3 separate regions of the Homo sapiens genome follow, and all the other regions are linked to region 3. Evidence: promoter capture Hi-C in human tissues and cell types (Jung and others, 2019). All regions are on one chromosome and are shown on one strand. Each heading gives the region's core, a stretch centred on a gene start or on the middle of the fragment in contact. The rest is flanking DNA. Distances are from core to core; before and after follow the strand shown.

Region 1 (3,954 bases), core at 673-3,172, 130 kb after region 3:
GTTAACTTAAAGAAGTACCTAATTATGGAACCCCAAGCAGAGGAGCAACGTGTATGTTAGCAAATAGTTTTGGCACATGAGAGAAGATGCTTCTGAACAGGAGATCATTATGTGTAAACATGGTCTTTGTGTTGGCAAGTACCACAGAACAAATTCTTCTTTTCATTTGTTATGATTTTCATAGCTGTTTCTTCTTCTCTACTTCTACACCAATTGGTACTCTCAAATATAACTTTTATAGTTCTTTCTGACATTCTTAAAGCATTGATGGGTGAAAGCAGCTTTATTGTCTTGCAGGGATAGGTAGGGTTAAATATTTCTAAATAATTATTTAAATAATGTATTTCTTGCATATGGACAACCTGTCTGATAAAAAAATTAAAAAATGAATTAGTATTTTTTAGAAGTGGGTTTGTGATAAAGCTATTAGTCTCATTATTGCTAAATTACATTGCAGTGATTTTCAAAACTGGGTTAAATGACATTATGTATAGATGTACTTTAGTGTTAGGTTTTATAAGATCTTTGGCAAAGTATGAAGCTACAAGATTCAGTAAATTGTTAAATAATTTTTTCTCAATCAACTTACAACCCAAAAAGAAAATGCAGCCCCTAGGTAGGTTAGAAGGGCTTGTAACAGGGATTGTGAATTGGGAAGAAGTAGTTAGGTAGTGGGCAATTGATATTATTAGAGATAGACATTTAGAAGTTGTCCAGTCCTTAAATTAATTGTTTAAGATAAAAAAAAGATAATTGACAAATTCCAATTGGAATTCTTTTAGAATAATTCATGAAATCATCCTGTAGACAAAACATTTATTCATCATTTAGCTATTGCTTTAGCAACTTGGTATTATAGATTCCACTGGAGCTTCCCTAGGTTTCCTTCGTAACACATGTCACTTCTAGCATTTGACATGAGAAAAGAATGTTCTTTTATGATCTTAGTGCAAAGATTTCATCCTATTTATGATACTTTAAATCATTCCCCTTGTAGTTAATCATATCTGATAGCTAGAATCAGAGAGCCCTGGTTTTAGTCCTGGTTCTACCATCTTCTGCCTGGTTCACTGGGGTCAAATTGCTTAACCTCTCCAAGCTTTCATTTTCTCAACCGTAAAATGCAGCCATTTTTTAATGATGTTTTTGACAACTGCTCTGGGTCTCTCACTGTTCTGTTCTAATTGTCAATGCCTTAGATCTTTCCCTACCTTTCTTCTCCCCCAAATGAAAACTTATTGTTTTGTCCCATTGCTTCAGGGCCTTGTTAATGTGTTAGCTAACTAATAATTCCCCTCCCAGATAACAAAATGCCTTAATTTAGTGGAAGCGCACATTTCTTCTAAATGATAATAACTTATATTTGTATAAAGATCTATAGGTTGCTGTTTGGCATATATGTACTCTGTTAATTCACATAACATACCTGAAGTAGGATATTATTGTCTATATTTAGTGGATAAGTAAACTAACACTAACAAGAGCTCAAGTAAGTTTCTCAAGGATACATGCATAATTTGCGAGTCAAGCTCTAGGTCAGCTACATCTATGTGCAGTATTTGTTCTACTTCACAGTTGTAATCAATAAAATGCTCAGCTCATATTGTAAAATAGGGGAATTTCAGACCTGAATAATGTCTGCTATTGCAAAAATAAAAATGGAGAGGTCCCCCTTGTCACTCATAACTTTGTGTGTTGAAAACCATCTATTTAACATACCTGGGCTTCAGCTTCCTTACCTTTAAAATTCAAGGGTTGGATAAGGTGATCTTCTAGGTCCATTTTCATTTTAATATTCCATGATTCTATGAACATATATATTATAGCTGCAATTCCTACACCAATTTTCATTTTCTTTCCAGTTTATATCAATAGTTGTGCAGGGAATTTATTTGTCAGGAAGTAAAATAGCATTTCAAAATGTGTTATGATATGTAATTTTTTTAGAGGAAAGAAGAGAAAGTAAAGAAAATTGAGTATTAAGTTTGAAGATTCAAATAGGAGAGTGTAGCCATCATTTTCTCTTGACCAAGTAACAATTTCTGTGAGGTTGTCCTGTGTACTGACAAGTGCTTAGTTTTAGGAGGGATGTCCATAGAGCAGTCGATGAGGAAGGGGACCCTGCTTAGCTATCCCCATCAGCTAAATTAACTCCAACCATCAGTAGGTAACAAATGTGGAAATAAGATCATCAACATACTCATGGATTACATTTTGAAAAGTCAGAAGCAAAACAGTATTAAGCTGTGTAGTCAAAACCGAAGTTGCTCAAGTTAAATATAATTCTCTCTTTATTACTATAAACTGTCTGAGAAAATCTGGCTCAAATTTATAAGACAGTCTAAAAGCAAAATTAAAGAAAAAGATGACAATTTTGAAGAGATTTTTTCCCCTCCATTAACACAACTAGGCTGGCTGAGCTGTGAAACTGTGATGGAAATATTAGAGCTGTTGTGCCTGAAAAAAAATGCAGTGATCATTTCATTCTTCCTGTCTTTTAATGCTCCAGGGTTTTGGAGACGAATAGGAGCAATAAGTTCACTTTGCAGAATTAATGCAGTAATTCTTTATCATAAGAGCAGAGCATTACCTCAATCTGATTTTGCTACAAAATGGTTCAAAGTCTATTTTTAATGATGGCCCTAATTTGTTAACACCTTTTAAATTATTAATCCCCTTTATATTCAAGTAGTTATTGCATGTCATAACAATGTATCTATGCAGGGAAATTTAATAGTATTTTCTAGATGTCAAGAAAAGGCTTGTTCTGCAAAATGCTATTAAAACTGATAATGAGCTAAATATTTGCCATAGCAAACACTGAAATTACTATATCAATCAGCATTGGGCTCTCTTATTCAATAAACAGAAATTAACCTATTAACTATGCCTAACTTTCAGCGACAAAATGGTTGCTTTCAAGCATTTCTCCCCACTTCAAATCTTTCTTTCCTTAAAAACTACATATTGCCCTATAATCTCAGAATTTTGAATAAAATTCTTAGTATCGGTGTTTGTGGTTGAAATTTTGAACACATAAGACATTAAAATGTCAATCTTTTGCTGTAGTGATTGCGAATATTTTTGACTTTCCTTTTAGACAAACACTGACTTATCAGCAATAAAAATACTATATCTGATAAAAATCTAATATTCAAGCTTAATATTTTCCTGATTTCTAGAATTTTTTTAAAAAATGGTTTCTCTCTTACTTTATCAATTATGGGATTTGACTAAGTATAACTACAAAAAATATGCTAGTGAAAGGTAGTATAAGGATCTACCATTGGTTAATTCTAGCTTTTAGATACTAAAATAGGGATTAAGCATATATTTTTTATGCCTACCCAGAAGAAAGATGTAGATGCAAAAGCACTTTACACACCATTAAAAACAAAAGAAAGTCAGTCCCCACTTCTGCTGTAAGTTAAGCAATACTGAACAGATGTGTTGTCTGTCTTCACTTGGTGATATATTCTCCATCCAATAATCATTTTAGTTATACTTTGGGCCGAGAATCAGTGTTGCACAACAGTGACCCTGAATTGGGTTTAGTTCTGATGCTTTTCTGTTATTTCTTATGCAAGTTTAAGGAACTTGAACAGCTTCAGTTGCTTTCACTGTTTCTAAATTTCTAAAAAAATGATACTGCACAATAGATGATAACTGTAGTTAAGCACAATAAAAATAATGCTAAGCAATGGTGCTTTAAACTTCTCAAAGCTTTTTGTGTCTGTTTGTTACAACTCCCCTTAAGTAGGCAGGCTAAACATCATCTTTATTAAATAGATTAAAAGGCAGACCTAGAGAAGCCGATGATTTGCTCAAGCAAGTGGGGGCACTGGGAAAAGAATCTGGACTTCATGGTTTTCAGGCTTATAATTCCAGCGGTTCTCAACACTAGTTGTTCCTTAGGCTCACTTGGGGAACTTTAGAAAAAAAAAATTTCTGAAT
Region 2 (3,486 bases), core at 683-3,182, 160 kb after region 3:
GAAAGCTAGGAATCATAGATTTAAAGAACAAAAAAAGGAATTCAGAGAGATCATGTAGTCTAATCACCTCTGTTGCACCCCAATTTTCAAATGAGAAACTTACACAAGGTGAGAATTTTTGTCCATAGGGACACTGAATAAAATACTTAGTATATTTAGTAATTATCCATTTAATGTCTTCTAAAACACACATCATAATAATAATGTCAACATCAACACCAATAACATGACTACTGAAAAAAAATTTTAGATTTTTTGGGTGGGAGGCATTTTTTAGGATATAATCCATTAGAGATGTATGGTCAAATTTCTCTGTTTTAAAGCCATCTGGAATTTTTCCTTCCTGTGTGATTATATCACCAACTGGATACATATTTAGGGTCATTGGCTTTATCTGTTTATTTATTTTTAGATTTTTAGAAGTTACTTTTGCTTTTTCAAAAATTTCTTTTGTTGGGGCTCCTTGTAGAAATGGTAGATTCCAGGTCTGGATGCAAAGATGTATGCCATGAGTCTGAAACAATTTCTCATAGCAAATAGAAAGCCATCAGAATCCACAAAGCTGACATTAGAAGGCCCCTTTGTGCAGTAGGCTGTGATGATCTGGGGCCCCAAAATACCCAGTATCAAAATATATCACCCACCCTTAGCCAGGTAAAGTTTGTGTAATCTAAGAAAAAAAAAGGTCAAAATTAAAAACAAATCCCTTTTAGAGGAACCCAACAACTAGGCAATGAGATATGGATGCTAAAACAGTGAGTTCCCAAAGAAGAGACTGATGAGCACTGACAACATTCAGTTCAAATATTGAGCTATGGTGGACCCCAGGCTGGCAGTTGTCTGCCTGGTGGAAACTGAAGGTGCCTCTACAAAATCAGATTTCTCCATTTAATTTACATTTACTTTCACATTTGTTATAAACCCTACAATGCGTTATTATTTGTTTGCATTAACCAATTATTTTTAAAGCAAATTTAAAAAGAAAAATTATTTTTACTGACATATTTCTAATTTTCATGTTCTTCATTTCTTTGCACAGATGCAGATTTCAAAATGAATCCCTTTTCCTTCAGTGTGTAGGACTGTAACATTTCTTGTACTGATGTTTAGTGATTAATTCTCTCAGCTTTTATATGGTTGGCAAAAGCTTTATTTTGCCTATGGTTTTGAAAGATATTTTCACTGAGTATACAATTCTAGGTTTGATGCTTATTTTTTTTTATTTCAGTACTTTAAATATCTTCTTCTGAACTGTATTTTTTACAAAGATCTTTCTGGTTTTTTTTGTTTGTCCTGTCTCTGTATGTAGTGTCCTTCCTCTCCCACCTCACCCTGGCTGCTTTAACATATTTCTTTTTATCACTGATTTCAAGCACTGACTATGGTATGCCTCCATTTAGTTTCTTCATGTTTCTTTTGCTTACAGTTTACTGGGCTTCTTAAATTCCAGTTTGTGGTTTTTCTTAAATCAAATTTGTAAAACAACTGGCCACTGATTACTTTGTTTTATATATATATATATATATATATATATATTCGTTCTCTCTTCTTTTCCCTCTCCTTTGGGGCCTCCAATTCAATCATATATTAGGCTTCTTGAAGTTGACCCACAGTTCTCTGACATTCTCTGTTCAATTTTTTTTTCAGTATTTTTTCACAGTATTTCATTGTGAATAGTTTCTATTGCTATGTCTTCAAGTTCACTAACCTTTTCCTTTGCATTGTGTAATCTGCTGCTAATCCCATTCAATTTATTTTTCATCTTGGACATTTTATTCCATGACTCTTTAAGTTCCTACTACCTACTTGAACATATGGACTATAGGATATAGGAGTGGCATCAGATTTAGGAGGGAAGAGGTAGCCACAAAGTAAAGTATATGAAGAGGAATAATCATGAGGAGAAAAGCAGGAATATTCAGAAATCAGGAGCCCCAGGAACAGCGGGGGATAGGGTAGGGTTGAGGAAATGCTAAGGGGAAGTAAGACACAGGATTGGATACAGGAGGATGAATTAAAGTCTTCAGATAAAATAGTTCACTAAGATTAGCAGCCTCAAGAGTGCCAACCAGGGAAAAGTAAAACTTTTATTATAAATTCTAGCAGAAGGATCAAATACACTTGGTCTTCCTATAGTTGTTTAATATATAATAAAAATAATGATAATAATAAGTTTCCTTTTGTGGAAACTCACAGAAGCCGATGTTTGTGGGGAGAAAAACAACAAATAAAATGCTCATGAACATCTAGATTGTACTCTTAAAGACTACAAAATACTGGCCGGGCTAGGCATGGTGGCTCATGCCTGTAATCCCAGCACTTTGGGAGGCCGAGGCAGGTGGATCACGAGGTCAGATTGAGACCATCCTGGGTAACACAGTGAAACCCCGTCTCTACTAAAAATAGAAAAAATTAGCCAGGTATTGGGGCGGGCACCTGTAGTCCCAGCTACTCGGGAGGCTGAGGCAGGAGAATGGCATGAACCTGGGAGACGGAGCTTGTAATGAGCCGAGATTGCACCGCTGCACTCTAGCCTGGGTGACAGAGCCAGACTCCGTCTCAAAAAAAAAAAAAAAAAAAAAAAAAAAGACTACAAAATACCATATTTAGTGAGAAAGATGCTCTTACTGAGAAATCATGGTCAGTTCCAGAGGAATCTTGTCGACATATATTTTGAACCTCAGGTAACAGGTTAAGGACACAAAATGAAATCTTTTGCTGAAAGTCACAAAGCTAATTAGTGCTCAATATGATGTTAGAGCTCAGATCACTGGACTCTTGACTAGTAGCCTCTCTGAATGACACCAAGCTGCCAGTAGGTGAGCTTTGATTCAGTCATATTTTTCACCAGATTCTTCTTTTTCTTTGTGTTGGTTATGAAAACATTATTAAAGACAGAGAGTTCCTCTGTGATTATAAGATGGATGAAACCTACTTGCTTGCTGACTTTTTGGCTAATTCCATGACCTCCTCCTCATTATTAAAGTTAATAACCAACAGAAGTAGCTGATTGTAATAAAAGCTGAGGATCACTAGTGAGTGTGATTTTTTTTCATTTTTTTTAAAGGGTTGAGTTCATGAATGAAAAATACAAGCAAGGAACAGGTTACAAAAACATGACTCAATATTAAGCCCAGGGACCCACATTAAGCCAACATAAACCAAGGGCTGTGAGACAAAGTCATGGTTTTGATCATTCTCTTTTAAGAATACTAAATGATGCATAAAACTACGATGATATCGTTGCCAGTCAAGGAAACCTTTACATGCCATTTTGTAGAAAACAGTGTCTTTAAGTACTGACTGCCAGCAGTTTAATCTACTATATTTCTATAGTCAGGATTTGCATCTTATTTCTCTGATGTCATTTACATTTGGCTACAATAAGAAAGTACATGAAAACCATGTTACTGATATAATTATTATCAGTGAAGTGGTTAACAATATTGGTATTTAAATGGCTATAATTACATTTCTAGGTTGACA
Region 3 (3,928 bases), core at 232-2,731:
CCGGGGCCTTCTCACCCTCGCCTGCACCCTGCTCCTTCCGCTCTCTAGGGAGGTGACAGCAGCCCCCAACACCGCGGGAAGTATAGAGAAAATGGGATCCAGAAGGAGAGGAAGTAGTGTGTGTGTGTGTGTGTGTGTGTGTGTGTGTGTGTGACAGAGAGAGAGAGATAGATAGAAAGAGATTATCTCCTTTTGCAACTGGAACCAAGAGTGTGTGTCCATCTCTAGGAAAAGTGGTCTGCACTGGGACTGGGACAGAAGTGGGAGTGAAGTGTCAGCTAAAAATAGGCTCCGCACCGAGAGGCTGTGGAAATGAAGATAAGTGAGGTTTGTGCCAGCCCCCGAGGGTGTGTGTGTGTGTGTCTGTGTTGTGGGGTGTATTCAGCAGCATATGCGCTGTGTAATTTCTGACCTTCCCTCTCCCTGTCAGTTGCCCCTTCTTCCTTTGATTGTGGCTAATGAAGAATAATAAATCCAGGGGCAGGGTTTGCCAGTGGATCCTTCCAAGACTCAACTCGAACTGTACTGGATACAGGGAGGAGGAGGAAGAGAAAAGGGGGGCAAGAGGAGCGTGTGTGTGTGCCTGTGTGTATGTGTGTGTGTGTTGTGGGAGGGGTGGGGACAGCGGGGAGGGGGAGGAGTCGCATGCGCACAGACGACCCGAGCCTGCTCCGCGGCTGTCCAATCCGCTGAGAGCTGCGAGAAATCGAGTGAGAGAAAGCCCTGCAGCCCCTCCGACCCCATGTCTCTTTGGCACCAGGCACCCGCCGGGCCGTGGGGGGCTCGTAGCCGAACGCCGACCTCCGCTCGTATTGGGCTGGGAGTTCAGAGCCGCGCGCAGAACCCGGGTTGGCCGCAACGTCTGTGTTCTCAGCGGTGGCCGGGAACCTGGGATCAGGGTCACCTGAGCTGACGGGGTGGGGGCGGGCCGAGTGGGGTTGGAAGCCTGGAACTTAGTGGTAAGCAGGAGGCGTAGGAGGTGGCAGCCAGGTAAGAGGCACTCTTACCTACCCAACGCTGGCTTGGGCCGCAACTTTATTTGGGAGTTTCTTTTTCCGGTGAGACAGAGACCCGGCAGAAGAAGCGGGAGGGGCTGGAGGCTGGTCCTTAGGTAGGCACTGCCCGGCGACTGGAGCGCGGACCTGGCCATTTGGGTGGGGTTGAGTGGGGGCGCGATTGTGAGTAGCAGCCGCGGGACGCTGCGAAGGGGCGGCGGCAACAGAGCACGGGCGGGGGCAGAAAAGAGGCGGCGGAGGGCGCGGTGGGGGAGCGCGAGGCGAGTGCTGAGAGAGCAGAAAGGACTCAAGCCTGAGGGGAGTAGAGAGGAAGAAGGGGCAACGCGAGAAACCGAACAGGAGCCGGCGTTTCCTGGCAAGGGAGGGCGGAGGCGCGCGGGAGAGAGGGAGAGAGGGAGGGCGGGGGGCGCGGGGGTAGGCGCGGGGAGAGGGGAGTATAACTCGCCGGCCGCGAGGAGCGGGGGCAGTTTCGGGTGCCGAGGTCTGCAGCTAGCGGCAAGCGGAGTCAGGCATCCGTTCAGACTGACAGCAGAGGCGGCGAAGGAGCGCGTAGCCGAGATCAGGCGTACAGAGTCCGGAGGCGGCGGCGGGTGAGCTCAACTTCGCACAGCCCTTCCCAGCTCCAGCCCCGGCTGGCCCGGCACTTCTCGGAGGGTCCCGGCAGCCGGGACCAGTGAGTGCCTCTACGGACCAGCGCCCCGGCGGGCGGGAAGATGATGATGATGTCCCTGAACAGCAAGCAGGCGTTTAGCATGCCGCACGGCGGCAGCCTGCACGTGGAGCCCAAGTACTCGGCACTGCACAGCACCTCGCCGGGCTCCTCGGCTCCCATCGCGCCCTCGGCCAGCTCCCCCAGCAGCTCGAGCAACGCTGGTGGTGGCGGCGGCGGCGGCGGCGGCGGCGGCGGCGGCGGAGGCCGAAGCAGCAGCTCCAGCAGCAGTGGCAGCAGCGGCGGCGGGGGCTCGGAGGCTATGCGGAGAGCCTGTCTTCCAACCCCACCGGTGCGTATTTCTGCATAATCACCGCTTAAAGGCACATTTTGACAGCCCCCTTTATCTGCTTGATGTTTTTTTCATGTCTGCACAGCAAATCACCCCACACCTCCAACCAATTTTCCCCTCTCTCTCTCTTAAGTATTCAGCAGGTCTTGCCTTTCATATTAATTTTTATGACCTGGGATGTTGCCTGTGCGCGTGTTGTGTTGTGTTTCGTTGTGTCTACAGGCTCACTTTCCTCCTCCTCCTGCACTCTCGGCTTCTTTCTGTGGCTTCCCTCTTTTTCTCTTCACCTCTGTTTTCAGGATTATTATTATTATTATTTTAACGATCTGGGAATGTTGTAGGCGCGGCGACGGTGTCGAGCCCTGGGCCGGGGCTTCCGGAGAGAGGGCGTACAATTCCCTGCTGAGCGTAATGTGTGCCTTCTACTTACAATTGCAGAGCAATATATTCGGCGGGCTGGATGAGAGTCTGCTGGCCCGCGCCGAGGCTCTGGCAGCCGTGGACATCGTCTCCCAGAGCAAGAGCCACCACCACCATCCACCCCACCACAGCCCCTTCAAACCGGACGCCACCTACCACACTATGAATACCATCCCGTGCACGTCGGCCGCCTCTTCTTCATCGGTGCCCATCTCGCACCCTTCCGCGTTGGCGGGCACGCACCACCACCACCACCATCACCACCACCACCACCACCAACCGCACCAGGCGCTGGAGGGCGAGCTGCTGGAGCACCTGAGTCCCGGGCTGGCCCTGGGCGCTATGGCGGGCCCCGACGGCGCTGTGGTGTCCACGCCGGCTCACGCGCCGCACATGGCCACCATGAACCCCATGCACCAAGCAGCGCTCAGCATGGCCCACGCGCACGGGCTGCCGTCGCACATGGGCTGCATGAGCGACGTGGACGCCGACCCGCGGGACCTGGAGGCATTCGCCGAGCGCTTCAAGCAGCGACGCATCAAGCTGGGGGTGACCCAGGCAGATGTGGGCTCCGCGCTGGCCAACCTCAAGATCCCCGGCGTGGGCTCGCTTAGCCAGAGCACCATCTGCAGGTTCGAGTCCCTCACACTGTCCCACAATAATATGATCGCGCTCAAACCCATCCTGCAGGCATGGCTCGAGGAGGCCGAGAAGTCCCACCGCGAGAAGCTCACCAAGCCTGAACTCTTCAATGGCGCGGAGAAGAAGCGCAAGCGCACGTCCATCGCTGCGCCAGAGAAGCGCTCGCTCGAAGCCTACTTTGCCATTCAGCCTCGGCCCTCCTCTGAAAAGATCGCCGCCATCGCGGAGAAGCTGGACCTGAAGAAAAACGTGGTGCGCGTCTGGTTCTGCAACCAGAGGCAGAAACAGAAAAGAATGAAATATTCCGCCGGCATTTAGAAGACTCTTGGCCTCTCCAGAGACGCCCCTTTCCTCGTCCGCTCTTTTCTCTCCTCTCTTCTGCCTCTTTTCACTTTTGGCGACTAGAAACAATTCCAGTAAATGTGAATCTCGACAAATCGAGGACTGAAGAGGGAGCGAACGAGCGAACAACTGAGCCCAAGCCGGTGAGAATGTGAAACAGTTTCTCAAAGGAAAGAATAACAAAAGATGGTATTTGTCTGTTGTAGCAAAGTTGTCCCTTTGAACCCCACCTCGGCTTCTTCAGAGGAAGTGTGGAGATGGCTGTTTGCAGGAAGGCAGACGAGACAGTGTTTAAAAAGTCCACAAGAATGATCAAGTAAGATTTGTTTTTATTCTTACAGACATCACCCGTGTTCAAGTTTAAAAGTACACTTTGCAACTATTTTTCAGAAATAGAAATTGATTCAGGACTAAAACTTTAAACTAGAGTTGATGCTTAATGTGATAGAGACATCTCTAAAGTATTTTGAATTTTAAAAAAAGATGGCAGATTTTCTGCATTTACAC

Evidence for each region. Contacts are between HindIII fragments. The study calls those that stand out against the background at their distance.
Region 1: a contact is called between a fragment that was not itself captured here and the fragment with the promoter of POU4F2 in region 3, in 2 of the 25 tissues and cell types used here (aorta and lymphoblastoid cells).
Region 2: a contact is called between a fragment that was not itself captured here and the fragment with the promoter of POU4F2 in region 3, in 3 of the 25 tissues and cell types used here (neural progenitor cells, ovary and thymus).

What each region holds. Positions count from the first base shown.
Region 1 is chr4:146,766,185-146,770,138 of GRCh38, forward strand. All of the region lies in intron 11 of TTC29 (tetratricopeptide repeat domain 29), which reads right to left. Among named protein-coding and RNA genes, the nearest start is that of POU4F2, 130 kb to the left of the region's middle. The HindIII fragment of the contact is 3,038 bases long and covers 404-3,441 here.
Region 2 is chr4:146,796,326-146,799,811 of GRCh38, forward strand. All of the region lies in intron 11 of TTC29 (tetratricopeptide repeat domain 29), which reads right to left. Among named protein-coding and RNA genes, the nearest start is that of TTC29-AS1, 140 kb to the right of the region's middle. The HindIII fragment of the contact is 4,457 bases long and covers 1-3,486 here.
Region 3 is chr4:146,637,412-146,641,339 of GRCh38, forward strand. It overlaps POU4F2 (POU class 4 homeobox 2), which reads left to right and starts at 1,482. Exons shown (of 2, transcript NM_004575.3): 1 at 1,482-2,017; 2 at 2,456-3,928. The coding sequence starts at 1,730. The coding sequence ends at 3,397. RefSeq lists enhancers at 1-417, 418-999, 1,000-1,580, 1,581-2,162. The HindIII fragment of the contact is 18,734 bases long and covers 1-3,928 here.